2 separate regions of the Homo sapiens genome follow, and region 2 is linked to region 1. Evidence: promoter capture Hi-C in 16 types of primary human blood cells and fetal thymus (Javierre and others, 2016). All regions are on one chromosome and are shown on one strand. Each heading gives the region's core, a stretch centred on a gene start or on the middle of the fragment in contact. The rest is flanking DNA. Distances are from core to core; before and after follow the strand shown.

The links. Contacts are between HindIII fragments. The CHiCAGO score rates a contact against its expected background, and 5 or more counts as called.
Region 2: the fragment with the promoter of TBK1 here is called in contact with a fragment that was not itself captured in region 1 in 1 of 17 cell types (total CD4 T cells); the score reaches 8.2 in total CD4 T cells.

What each region holds. Positions count from the first base shown.
Region 1 is chr12:69,583,790-69,589,911 of GRCh38, reverse strand. CCT2 (chaperonin containing TCP1 subunit 2) reads right to left here and starts at 4,453. Exons shown (of 16, transcript NM_006431.3): 1 at 4,388-4,453; 2 at 3,568-3,642; 3 at 3,094-3,159; 4 at 2,296-2,407; 5 at 1,906-1,982; 6 at 1,650-1,762; 7 at 225-427. The coding sequence starts at 4,390. It overlaps MIR3913-1 (microRNA 3913-1), which reads left to right and starts at 5,089; the gene lies at 5,089-5,190. MIR3913-2 (microRNA 3913-2) reads right to left here and starts at 5,189; the gene lies at 5,090-5,189. RefSeq lists an enhancer at 4,083-4,422. The HindIII fragment of the contact is 1,624 bases long and covers 2,156-3,779 here.
Region 2 is chr12:64,448,358-64,454,479 of GRCh38, reverse strand. TBK1 (TANK binding kinase 1) reads right to left here and starts at 2,360. Exons shown (of 21, transcript NM_013254.4): 1 at 2,293-2,360. XPOT (exportin for tRNA) reads right to left here. Exons shown (of 25, transcript NM_007235.6): 25 at 3,355-6,122. RefSeq lists a silencer at 2,020-2,489. The HindIII fragment of the contact is 9,573 bases long and covers 1-3,822 here.

The sequences.
Region 1 (6,122 bases), core at 1,718-4,217:
TTCATGGTAGTTAAGTAAACTCTAGAGATCATCAACAATGCTGGAATAGCGCGGGAAGAGGAGTACACTGTCAATAAAATGACAAAAATGGTTGCACATATGATATGTCCTTAAATTCAAGTTCACTGGCTTTGTAAAGGGTCACTGGTCTCAAAACAGAATTCACTCAGTATTCAGCCCTCAGCATCTAATCAAAGCTTCTTGTATCTGACATTCATACATACCTTCATCTAAATAGGAATCTGCCAAACTTCCTCCTAGCTTCTTGATAATATGAATTGCCTCCAGGTTGCCAGAGCCTTTCAGTCTGAGAACTGCTTCTACAGCTAACTTTGTAAAGTGGTCTTTGTGATGAGTAAGAAGTTTTGAGGATAATGTTGTGCCCGCAATATTCATTAAATCTTGACGGAATTTAACTTCATCGGAACTAAATAAAACCAACCAAATATACATATTAACCCTACTTTACTTTTCAAAATTTATCTAGATATTCATGTCAATAGATAATTTTACCCTAACTGATCAAGTCTGTAAGCTATATGAAAAGAATTAAACCTCAGCAGTAATCAAGAAACACAAATTAAAGATGTTATTTTCCCCACCAAACTGGCAAAATGCCAAAAAAAAAAGAGGGGTGGGGGCCACACAAGCATGCAAAAGTCTAATGTTGGCAAGAATGTGAGAAATGGCCGGGCACAGTGGCTCACGCCTGTAATCCTAGCACTTTGGGAGACTGAGGAGGATGGATCACTTGAGGTCAGTTCAAGACCAGCCTGAGCAACATGGTGAAACCCCATCTACACTAAAAATACAAAATTAGCTGGCTATGATGGCACATGCCTGTAGTCCCTGCTACTTGGGAGGCTGAGGCAAGAGAATCGCTTGAACCCGGGAGGCAGAGGTTGCAGTCAGCCGAAGTCGTGCCACTGCACTCCATTCTGGGCAACTCTAAGAGCGAGACTCCGTCTCAAAATAAATAAATAAATAAAAGGACGTGAAAAACAAGTATTATTATACAGTTGTGAATGGGCAAATAAATAGAAGTGCCTTAAAACAGTGGTCCCGGACCTTTTTGGCACCAGGGACTGGTTTCATGGGAAGACAATTTTTCCACCTGCTGCTCACCTGCTGTGCAGCCCAGGTTTGGGGGTGCCTTAAAACACACACACTTACCTTTGGACCCAACAATTACACTTCTAGAAACCTTTGGGCTATGTCGCAACGTCACAAAGTTATTTTATAATGCTAAAAATCATCAAATACACAAATCTCCCCCTACAGATAGGTTAATACAGTCATTCTAGCCAAATATTCAAATGTGTAACTCTATTAAAATACTGCACAGAAAATTGACATCCAAAAATGTGCTTAATATTTAACTAGGTTAAAAAGAGGCTAACAAATTCTCTATACAGTATTATACTATTTGCTTTATTTGTATATTTTGATGATATATACAAAAAGACTAAAAACCCAAACTTAACTTTAGTGGCTATCTCTGGAGGCTGATGTAGGTTTGACTGTTGGAGTGGGGTGAGGCAGCAAGATGATCTTTGTGTATGCTTTTCAGTGTCCTATAGATTTCTTGCATTAAGCATGTTATGAAAGAACACTAAATGTTTAGAACAGTAGTACTTTGCTATACAAACCCATGATCAACTGCAGAACTCAACAGCGCCTCTCTTGCAGCCTTCGTGGCTTCTCTCCAACCCGCTATGATGGTCTGTGGATGAATCTTTTTTGCAATTAAAGATTCTGCTTCCTATTAATAAAGTTATAAAACAAAAGTTATAAATAGAAAATTATTAAGCACTCCTCAATAGTAAAGACAGAGGAAGTAAGGACTAGATTACCTCTGATACTCAAAAACACAGTAGGAAAAAAGAGTTGCTTAGTTGCTCTTACCCTTAATAATTCTGCTGCTAAAACGGTAACAGAGGTAGTGCCATCACCAACTTCATCATCTTGAACCCTTGACATATCTAGAAAAAGAAATTAGTTATTAACTCAAAATTGCTTCTTTGCTTACTAAATTCTCCAAAAATATTCACTACCAATCTAAACTTACCAGGGTTCCTCATTCAACAAATTATTTGGAACTCTGAGGTCTGAAATGCAACAGTTTTACCACCAACATACGGGCACTCCTGAAGCTTGTATTTTAACAACGATAATTAACAACTAGTGGACATCAATTGACAGTACGATTGGTCAACACAGCCTATTTATAAAGTTATTTCAAAAATGTTAACAAACAGTATTATTAGGTTGGTGAAAAAGTATATTCAGACTTACCAACTAAAACTTTAGCTGCTGGATTGTCAACACCAATGTTTTTTAGAATAGTGGCACCATCATTGGTTACCATAAGAGAGGCATCTCGTCCACTGCTTAGAAGAATTTTGTCCTAAAGGGAACATAATTGGTTCAAGTTAAGACATAAGCACATCTTGAAGAATGCATGGATCAATCAGTATTCTCACACAGTGCTAGTGTATAAACACTCTGGATAGCTATTTTGTGGTATCCATTCATCAAATGTTTTCAATACATACACCACGTAACCAAACCATGTATCTACCCCTAGAAACACTAGAAGCACAGGTAGACACTAGTTTTTGTTTCAACACCGTAACTGCAAAAACAATGGAAAGAAACTATCAATACAGCCATAATTAAATTATAAAATAATTAAGGTACAGGATAATATTTGACAGTTAAAGGGGCAGTGTTATCTACTTACACTGAAAGGAATTTAAAAGAGCAAGCTACAAAAAAGTATTGATAAATAGTATCTGTTTTATAAAACAGTATGTTACATGAGTATAAAATACATAATGAAGTACACATACTTCTACATAAACAGAATATTAGAAGATGTACGTGCAAATGATAACAGTACTTGTCATTGGGGAGGGGCATGGGATTGGGGATGGTGATTCTGGGGACTCTGATTTTTACTAAGGAGAACATACTTGTCTTTTATAATTAAACGTTTTAAAGATTAAAAAGCATTTTAATACGCTTGTTATTATATTTCCACCAAGCGCTCTAAAACAATATTAAAATATAAAACTTTTCTATTTTTCTTACCATGCCTTTGGGTCCCAAGGTGCTCTTTACCAAGTCTCCAATGGCGATGGCACCAATAAAAGAAGTCTGGAGTAAAAACCAAGGAGATTATCAGAATCAACTTTACAGTCTTCAAGTACAGTTTTATCTTTATTTACTTTTTTTTTTTTTTGAGGCAGAGTGTCGCTCTGTCGCCCAGGCTGGAGTGCAATGGCGCGATCTCAGCTCACTGCAACCTCCGCCTCCTGGGTTCAAGCGATCCTCCTGCCTCAGCCTCCCGAGTAGCTGGGATTACAGGTGCCCATCACCACGCCCGGCTAATTTTTGTATTTCTAGTAGAAACGGGGTTTTACCATGTTGGCCAGGCTGGTCTCGAACTCCTGACCTCAGTTCATCCGCCTACCTCGGCCTCCCAAAGTACTGGGATTACAGGAGTAAGCCACCGCGCCTGGCCTCCAGTTTTATCTTTAAAACAATGCTTAGAACAAGGCTTACCAGACGAGCTGTCTCTGCTCTCTCTTCATCAGCTCCTGCCTTAAAGATGTTAACAGGTGCAAGGGAAAGGGACGCCTGAAAAGGAAAACCAAGAGGCATTCCGTTTAAGTACCAATACTCTAACACATACACTGAGGTGCCTTCCACTAGTCTTACAAGTGGACATCTAAGAGAAAACTCATTTACAACAATGTTTTCAATCAAATGAAGCTTCCATCATCGGAGAAAGCATTTAAGTGGGAGAGAGGGACTTGTAGGAGAGCGACATGGCTTTTCGGATTTACAAGGCCCCCGGGAGTATAAATTATACACCAGCGAGATTGACAGTTACGTACAGCGAGACTAAAGACGATCTTGAACTAAGAATGAGGCAGGGAGGGGTTGCAGGCCATCAAGGTGACGCCTGCCGGGCGGGCGAGGGAACGCGGCCTCCATCTTCCACCCTCGGAAGGCTGCGGCCCCTCCACCCTCTGATGGCTCAGACCCCGTCGCTCCAGGCTCCGCCCCTAGAAGGAGGGCGGAGCGGGTCCCACACTAGAAATTTCTTCGCTCCGGGTGAGGCGCGGACCTGGGCTGCCGGGACTATGCAAAGACCTAGGCACAAGGAGACGCTGGCTTTGCGGTCCACCCCTCCCCCTCGTGGTGAGCTCCACCGGCTGGCCTGGCGCAGGCCGCACGCCCCGCGCATGGCTCGCACCATGTGCGGAGGGCCGGGGAGACAGAAACGGAGCCTACGACCCTAGCAGGACAGAGGAAGCAGTGGGGTGGCAAGAGCACGGCGGAGCAGGGGTAGGGCAAGAGGCAGGGGAGTCAGGCTCACCATGGTTCCGAGGAGTTCCGCACACAAGTGAATCCCCTCACAGCTCGTGCTCGGGACCAGCGGACTGAAGGAAGCCGGAAGTGACGCCACACGCCCTACTTCGGGGGGCGGGGCCCCGGCCTGTCGTTACCGCCAGCAGGCGTCCCATTTTGATTGGAGCCCCACGGGCCGGAAACGCAGCCTTTCACACTGGAGGGGGCGTGGCCGCCGCTCCAGAACAAAGAGGCGGCTGCCGCGCGGGTTGCCATAGAAATGGAGTTCTTGCTCACACTTTTTATTTTCTTAAATTTAATCTTTAAACACTTCTATTAAAGTCACACATGTACACAGTTTAAAGTGTTATATACCAATAAGGAAAAACATAATTTATCTGCCTCACCACTTCCTGTCTCCAGGAAAACTGCTTTCAACTTTTTCAGTTTTTTGGAGGGGCTATTTACTATCATATTCCCAGATAATATTATTGCTATGTTAATTTTAAACATTATTTACTGAGTATTACAGAAGAAGACTTCCTTTTCTCTTACTGAATTTTCAGACGTTATTTCTAACTGGACGTTGACTGCCCAGGATAAGGTCTTGTGAACTGAGAGAGACATTTATAGTATTTTATCTTTGCCCTATTTACTCATTTTCAGGAATTTTTGCATTTCGGTCTTTTTTTTTTTTTTCCTCCAATAGTAGAGACGACTTATTAGTCTTTGTTTATAATAAACTGAAATATTTGGGACTGATCTTGATGTCTGCCAAAACCTTGGCAGACATCAAGATCAGTCCCAAATATTTCAGTTTATTATAGACAGTTTTCTACTTTCTCTAAGTTGACGGATGTCTAAAAATTTGTTCTCTAAAAAATTTTTCTGTCATCTACTGATACCCTCTTTTCTCCCTTTGACTAACTGATCGCTTAAGCTCCTCGGCAGGGCGCGGTGGCTCACCCCTGTAATCCCAGCACTTTGGGAGGCCGAGGTGGGCGGATCACCTGAGGTCAGGAGTTGGAGACCAGCCTGGCCAACATGGTGAAACCCTGTCTCTACTGAAAATACAAAAATTAGCCGGGCGTGGTGTGCATGCCCGTAATCCCAGCTACTCAGGAGGCTGAGGCAGGATAATTGCTTGAACCCGGGAGGCAGAGGTTTCAGTGAGCCGAGATCACGCCGCTGCACTCCAGCCTGGGCAACAGAGCGAGACTCTGTCTCAAAACAAAAACAAAACAAAACAAGCTCCTGGATTTTTCTTTTTCTGTTTTGTTTTTTTTAGAGATGGGGTCTTCTATGTTGCCCAGGCTGGCCTGGAACTCCTGGGCTCAAGCAATCTTCCTGCCTTGGTCTCCTGAGTAGCTGGGGTCTCCTGGATTTTTGACATTGCTAACATTAACAGGAATTTTCAATTTTTTAGTTGTTTCTACCCTTCAGATTTCCTCTAAGTGGGTTGATTTCCACCAGGGGTTGGCAAGCTGTGAGGAGTCAAACCCAGCCTGCCAGTTGTTTTTTGTATGGCCTGAGAGCTAAGAATAGTTTTTACATTTTTAAGTGGTTGAAAGAAATCAAAAATTTCCTGACACATGAAAATCCTGTGAAATTAATATTTCAGTGTCCATAAAGCTTCATTGGAATCCATGGGCATACCCATACATATTTACTCTGTCACAATACGATAGCAGAGTTATGTGGCAGAGTTGAGTAGTCATGACAGGTTGAATGGGCCCACAAAACCTAAAACATGTATTATCTAA
Region 2 (6,122 bases), core at 1,111-3,610, 5.1 Mb after region 1:
GTCAGGAGTTCGAGACCAGCCTGGCCAATATGGAGAAACCCCGCCTCTACTAAAAATACAAAAAAATTAGCCAGGCGTGGTGGCGCATGCCTGTAATCCCAGCTACTCGGGAGGCTGAGGCAGAAGAATTGCTTGAAACCAGGAGGCAGAGGTTGCAGTGAGCTGAGATCGCACCACTGCACTCCAGCCAGGGTGACAGAGCGAGACTCCATCTCAAAAAGAAACAAAAACAAACAAAAACAACACCTATTTCTCTTCTAATTTTGTCTTTGTTGATGAGAGTGATATTGTTACTTACCTCCTTCAAATGTTTTGAAAGATTAATTTATGACATAATTTAAGGTGTTTTAAAATAAAGAAAAGTAATAATGTAAAATATAACAAATATAGGAAAAATTACTTTGTTTCCTTCAGAGCAGAGAAACACTAATGAAGACAAATGTTGTCACTGCATAATATTCCCATAAGCTAAAATTTTATCTACACAATCTACACAGAACCTGACAAACATAAAGGAAAGGTGCAAAAATTATTATTCCTGAAAAGTTACGAACTCTTCTGGAATTAATTTAAGGATAGTTTCTCCAACCTCCAAGTATAAATATATAAACGTACCAAGTAGCCTGTATTATCAAGTCTTTAATACTGAAAAGCTATGGATCTATCAAGGTATACAAAGTATCCAAGCTCCACACTGGACTAAAATTGATGTATGCTAACATAACATAAACACTAGTCCCACCATGCCCCCTTAAACCTGCTGTATTGTCATTAAAACATGGATTTTAATATCCCTCCACAGTAAGTTAAAGCAAAAAGTAGTATGCTAGACTAGGTATTCTGTGATGAATTAATGACCACCAATATCCCCAAGCTGGGTTAGGAAAATGCAGAATGGTCAGGGGTCTCAATTTTACCAATCACTGATATAGTAGGATATTTTTATATAATTTTACTACCCATCTAATTTAGATAAACTTTATATACGACTATAGGAAATAAGCAATAAAAATAAGATTCCCTTTTCACAAATAAGGAATACACATTTGCCAGTCATTACATTTCACTCACGATACAATAACAAACGTCTCAACTATCTAACGAAAAACCTTCCCTAATCAATGTAACTGTAAATGGCAAATAGTACCATTAGGTACCTATATGTATGTACCTTCAGGATAATAAGAAAAATATTTATCAGCTAAGATATCTGTTCTCTATGCAAATACAAAACTATGGTTTCTATTTAACAGTAATCACAATAGTGGTCAGGGGAAATGTCTTTTGAAATTATCTTCCAATAACTCCACAATAACATGTTAAAACATGACTCAGCACACCCACAACGTGCTTGCCATATAAATCTTCCCAAATTTTTGACAAGCATATAAGCAGACACTCAACAACTATGTTGCTGATGATGCCGTCTTCAGCCTACTTCCTTACACCGTCCAAAACGAAAGTTACTATTTGTTGAGGGATGAAAACAGGTTTGACGACATGGCCTATGGACAAAGTTCCAGGATTTCTAAACTCTGCCCCTATGTGATTCATACACTGGGGTTTCAGAGTGGAAAAGACCAGTCTTTGGTTATACATTTGGCAATTACTTGGGAGTTGTTTTGAGGCCACCTACTAAGAATACTTGGGATAGAGATTACAAATTAAACCCATAAGCCAGGTAGACGAGGAGCAAGGAAATGTCTGGGAATTCGTATTTCATCGGCATATATTTAAAACATCTTATGCTTCTAATTTCCGGTGTGAGTCAACCTCTGCGGACTGAACATCACTAAAACTCTAAGGAAACGTCTCTTTTTAATCCTCTGAAAAATCAATACATTTAAAAACTGCCCGTTGTGTCGACGCTCGGAAAGAGGGTAGAAAACAGCGAGTCTAAGGGAAAGAGGTGCCCCTGCCTCCCCAGGCAGCCAGGGCCCAGGCCCGGTAACGGAGTCGTCCTCTTTATGCCCAAAGCCGCCGGACGGGATGCAGGTCGAGGACCGGCCGCGCGGCGCGGAGCGGGGATGCAGGTAACAGGGCCCGCGCGACCATTCCACCGGCTACGGCCACCCGACACACACCCCAGAGGCAGTGTCCACGCAGCCGGGGTCCTGGATGGCTTGGCCTCGGGTCGTCCGGGGCTTCTCGGTGCGCCCGCCCCCGCCCCCGCTCTGACTCAGCATCCCAGCCTCCCACAGGGGGCGGGAGCGCTCCCCGCCGGGCGGCGCAGGCCTGACCGACCGCGCCCCGCGCCGCCTTGGCCCCTCAGCCCGCGGCCGTCTCACTTACCCAGCCGGGTCTCCGCCGCGCCACCGCCGGCGGGCTCCCGCGGCCTCCTCGAGACTCAGGACACTTCCGGCTTCGCAAGCCCTGGCCGGAGGCCACGTGACCGACGGCCGGCGCGCCGGTGCGGGTGCGCGTGCGCACGCCTATGGCCCGTCTGGTAGTCACCACAGCCGCGGCGGCAACTGCCGAGTCGGCTTCCGCGGCCACGGTAATGAGGGGGATGTCTGGAGACACCCCGTCCACTGTTGCCCTCGCCCTTTACTCTAAAGGGGAATGAGGAGCCCTGAGCAGCGAACACAGTAATTGGGATTCCCGCAACTGCAAATCCCGCCCCTTCCCCGAGCGCTGGCCGACAGTAGGGCGGACCGACGCTGAGCAAGGGATTACATCCCAAGATTTACAGGTGTGCAGAACGTGGGACACGTGGGGGGCAGGCACAGACGGCCGGCAGAGCTGGGAGGGATGGATTCTATGTTTTAAGGGCCCACTTTGGCTGCAGTGGAGCCAGATTATCGTCTCGCAGTAATTCAGACTTTACATTGTTTTTTTCATTTTCCCATCACCCAGAAATACATTAAATTCTTAATGTAAAAATGTTCATTTAATTCCCTCTCGGTATTTTGGAAAACGGCCGTATTGGAGTATCTAACTCTAAACTTAAGAATTTAAGAACTAAAACTTAAATACTAAAATTAGGTCCTGCAATATTCGTGCAGTCAAAATCTCAAGCCGCTATTCCCAATAAGGAATAGCTTTCTGAAGGGGTCCCTTCTGCCCACGGACAGCACAACAGGCCTTTCTCAACATGAGGGAGCAGAGACCGCTGCTAATCTAGGGCTAAATTTCTGAGTGGAGGGGAAGAGGAAGATGGTGTTTCCCAGAGTAGCAGCAGCAAACACGAATGAATGGGAAGTCATGCGGAGTGGCTCAGAGGCTTTTGAATGTAACAGACCTAGGGTTGCTGTCTCGGCTGCCAATTACTGACTTAAAAGCTAATCTCTTACCTCTCTAAGCCTCAGTTTTATCAAATGCACAATGGAGATAACAAAAGTCCACTCTAATGAATTCTTACAAAGCAAGTTACTTTATTAGCATTTTAAACAATGTATAAGTGATGGAATCATTCTAACAACACATCTATTCACTGCTTACAATTCCAACTAATTTCAGTTCTTTGATATCTAATGACAAGAGCGAAGACCTGTTAAAGTTCCTTCCACCAGTAAAACTCACAGCTCAAAGTTGTGGGAGTGATTAACTGAGCCACAGGCCTTCATTCACATGTTTACCACATTAAAATACCACACAGTGTTTTCTTATAAGGTCAACCAACTGGGAAGCAATTAACATTAGCATTAAGATTTAAACTGTTAGGCACAGGGCTAAATCAGGCATTATATGAAAACTTGTGGTTCCCTAGTCAAGTCAAACAAATCCCCAAATATTTCAGCTTGTAACAGTTTTGTCCTTCCTCTCTTGAGACAATTATTTGAGTACTTGCTTTTGGAAATAAGGTAATTCATGATGGAAGCTTCCTAGCTGTGATGGTGCTCTAGGCAACTTCAGAGAATGAAGATAGAAGTTATGCATGATTATATAACATGAAGAGTTTAATTTTTATTACACACTCAATTTCCATGCCCTGATTTCTCTTAGCTCTATAAACACATGTAAATCTTCTGCAGAGCTTTAAAGAGCTCTGAAAGGGAAAACACCTTTCCATATATGGAATTGATAGCATAGTAAGGCCGTGTGCAGTGGCTTATACCTGTAATCCCAACATTGTGAGGCCAGTGGGAGGATTGCTTGAGGCCGGGAGTTTGAGACCAGACTGGGTAACATAGTGAGACCCTGTCTCTACCAAAAAAAAATGTAGCTGGGTGTGGTGGTGCACACCTGTAATCACAGCTAGTCTGGATGCTGAGGCAGGAGGATTGGTAGAGTATGGGAGAAGTTACAGTGAGCTATGATGTCACCACTGCACTCCAGCCTGGGTGATAGACTGATCTCTATTCAAAAAAAAAAAAGAAAAAAAAAGTATAGTGATACACTATTAATTCCATATATGCTAATATGAGATAGCATCCATATAAACTACTATCAAGTCTTTATGTGCCAGCTACTGTAATAAGTCTTTTCAAGTTTAACTCATTGAATTCGTAATGAGGTTTGAGGTAGCTACCATTATTTCCATTTTACAAATAGGGAAACTGAGGCTGGGAGACATTCTTTAACTTGCCCAAGGTTCTAAAACCAGTTACTGGCAGAACTGGTATTTGAACCTACTTAATCTGATTCTAGAGCCTGTGCTATATAAACTCTTACCCACTATGCTATGCTATTCATTAGTATCCATTTAACAATTACTACTATTGCAATAGCTGCAATTATCACTCCTATAGTACAGGGGAACCTATCAAAGAAACACTCAGCTTTCACTTATCTATTTCTGAAAACATTTTTTATTAAAGTATAAGGTACATTTCACTGATTTATTTTTATAACTGTCAATTTAGTTAAGTATTTTTATTATATGGTGTAAGAAAAATGTTTGAAATGTCTTCTGGAATTAACCGGAACAAAATAAATGTACAAAATTTAGAATAGAATTTTACAGAGTTTATAAGCCACTGAAGCCCATTCATGAAACCCATTCATGAGGCCAAAGGGCAAAACAAACCCTCCCTGAACATCTCAATTGGGCTTTTAGAATTTAAACGTAAATGTCTATACGAATTCTGCTGCTCAGTTTTGTCCCTCCTCTCTTCTTTCCAGTGACACTACTGATAACTATTATTTTTTCCTTTTGCTTTCTCAAGTAGCCATGAATAAAAATGGAGGAAGGCAGGGGTAAGTACTTCTAATAATTAAATGTCAGTTACCATTTACAAACATAATAAACACATAGGTATACTATAGGTATACTGTGTTCTAAATACATCCAATAAAAGAGTTAGAAAATAAATTGGGATTTTAAATTCTTTTTTTTTTTTTTTGAGAGAGAGTCTTACTCTCTTGCCCAGGCTGGCGTGCAGTGGCACAATCTCAGCTCACTGCAACCTCTGCCTTCCGGGTTCAAGCGATTCTCCTGCCTCAGCCTCCTGAGTAGCCGGGATTACGAGCGTGCACCATCACACCTGGCTGTTGTATTTTTAGTAGAGATGGGGTTTCACCATGTTGGCCAGGCTAGTCTCGAACTCCTGACCTCAAGTGATCCACCTGCCTTGGCCTCCCAAAGTTCTGGGATTACAGTCGTGAGCCACCACGCCCGGCCTGGAATTTTAAATTCTATCAACAGATTCACATAGGCTTTTTCCAGTACATTAAAGAAAAAGACTCTCATATAACAGAACTAAGTTGCATGTTACCTTTGAGGAGTGAGGTTAAATGAATTAAAGCATCCACACACTCATATTTGTAAACCTTTAAATGGGAAATTATGGAGAGATTAAGATGAGAAAATAAAACTAAAGTATTTATAATAATTCCAGAAAAGACTTGGAAGATTTCACTACGTAAAGTTTATTTTTATATATATATATAAAAAAAAGTATAACACTGGAGCCTAAAACCATTCTCTTTTGTAGAATACATATTGGCGTTGAAACAGTTTAAAGAAATGAAATGGCTATCTACAAAAAGTTAGTTTTGATTGCTGTCTTCCCCCATACTTTGTGTCTTCACACATAAAGAAAATTTTCAAAGATTTTATATTCAGCAATTTTTTAAAAAGTACACTGTTTTCCACTGCTATGGTCTTTATAAAGGACTTGACTTAAAATTTCAAATAAAAAAGAATTAAGGTTCTAGGATAACTCTTGTGTCTTTTAAGA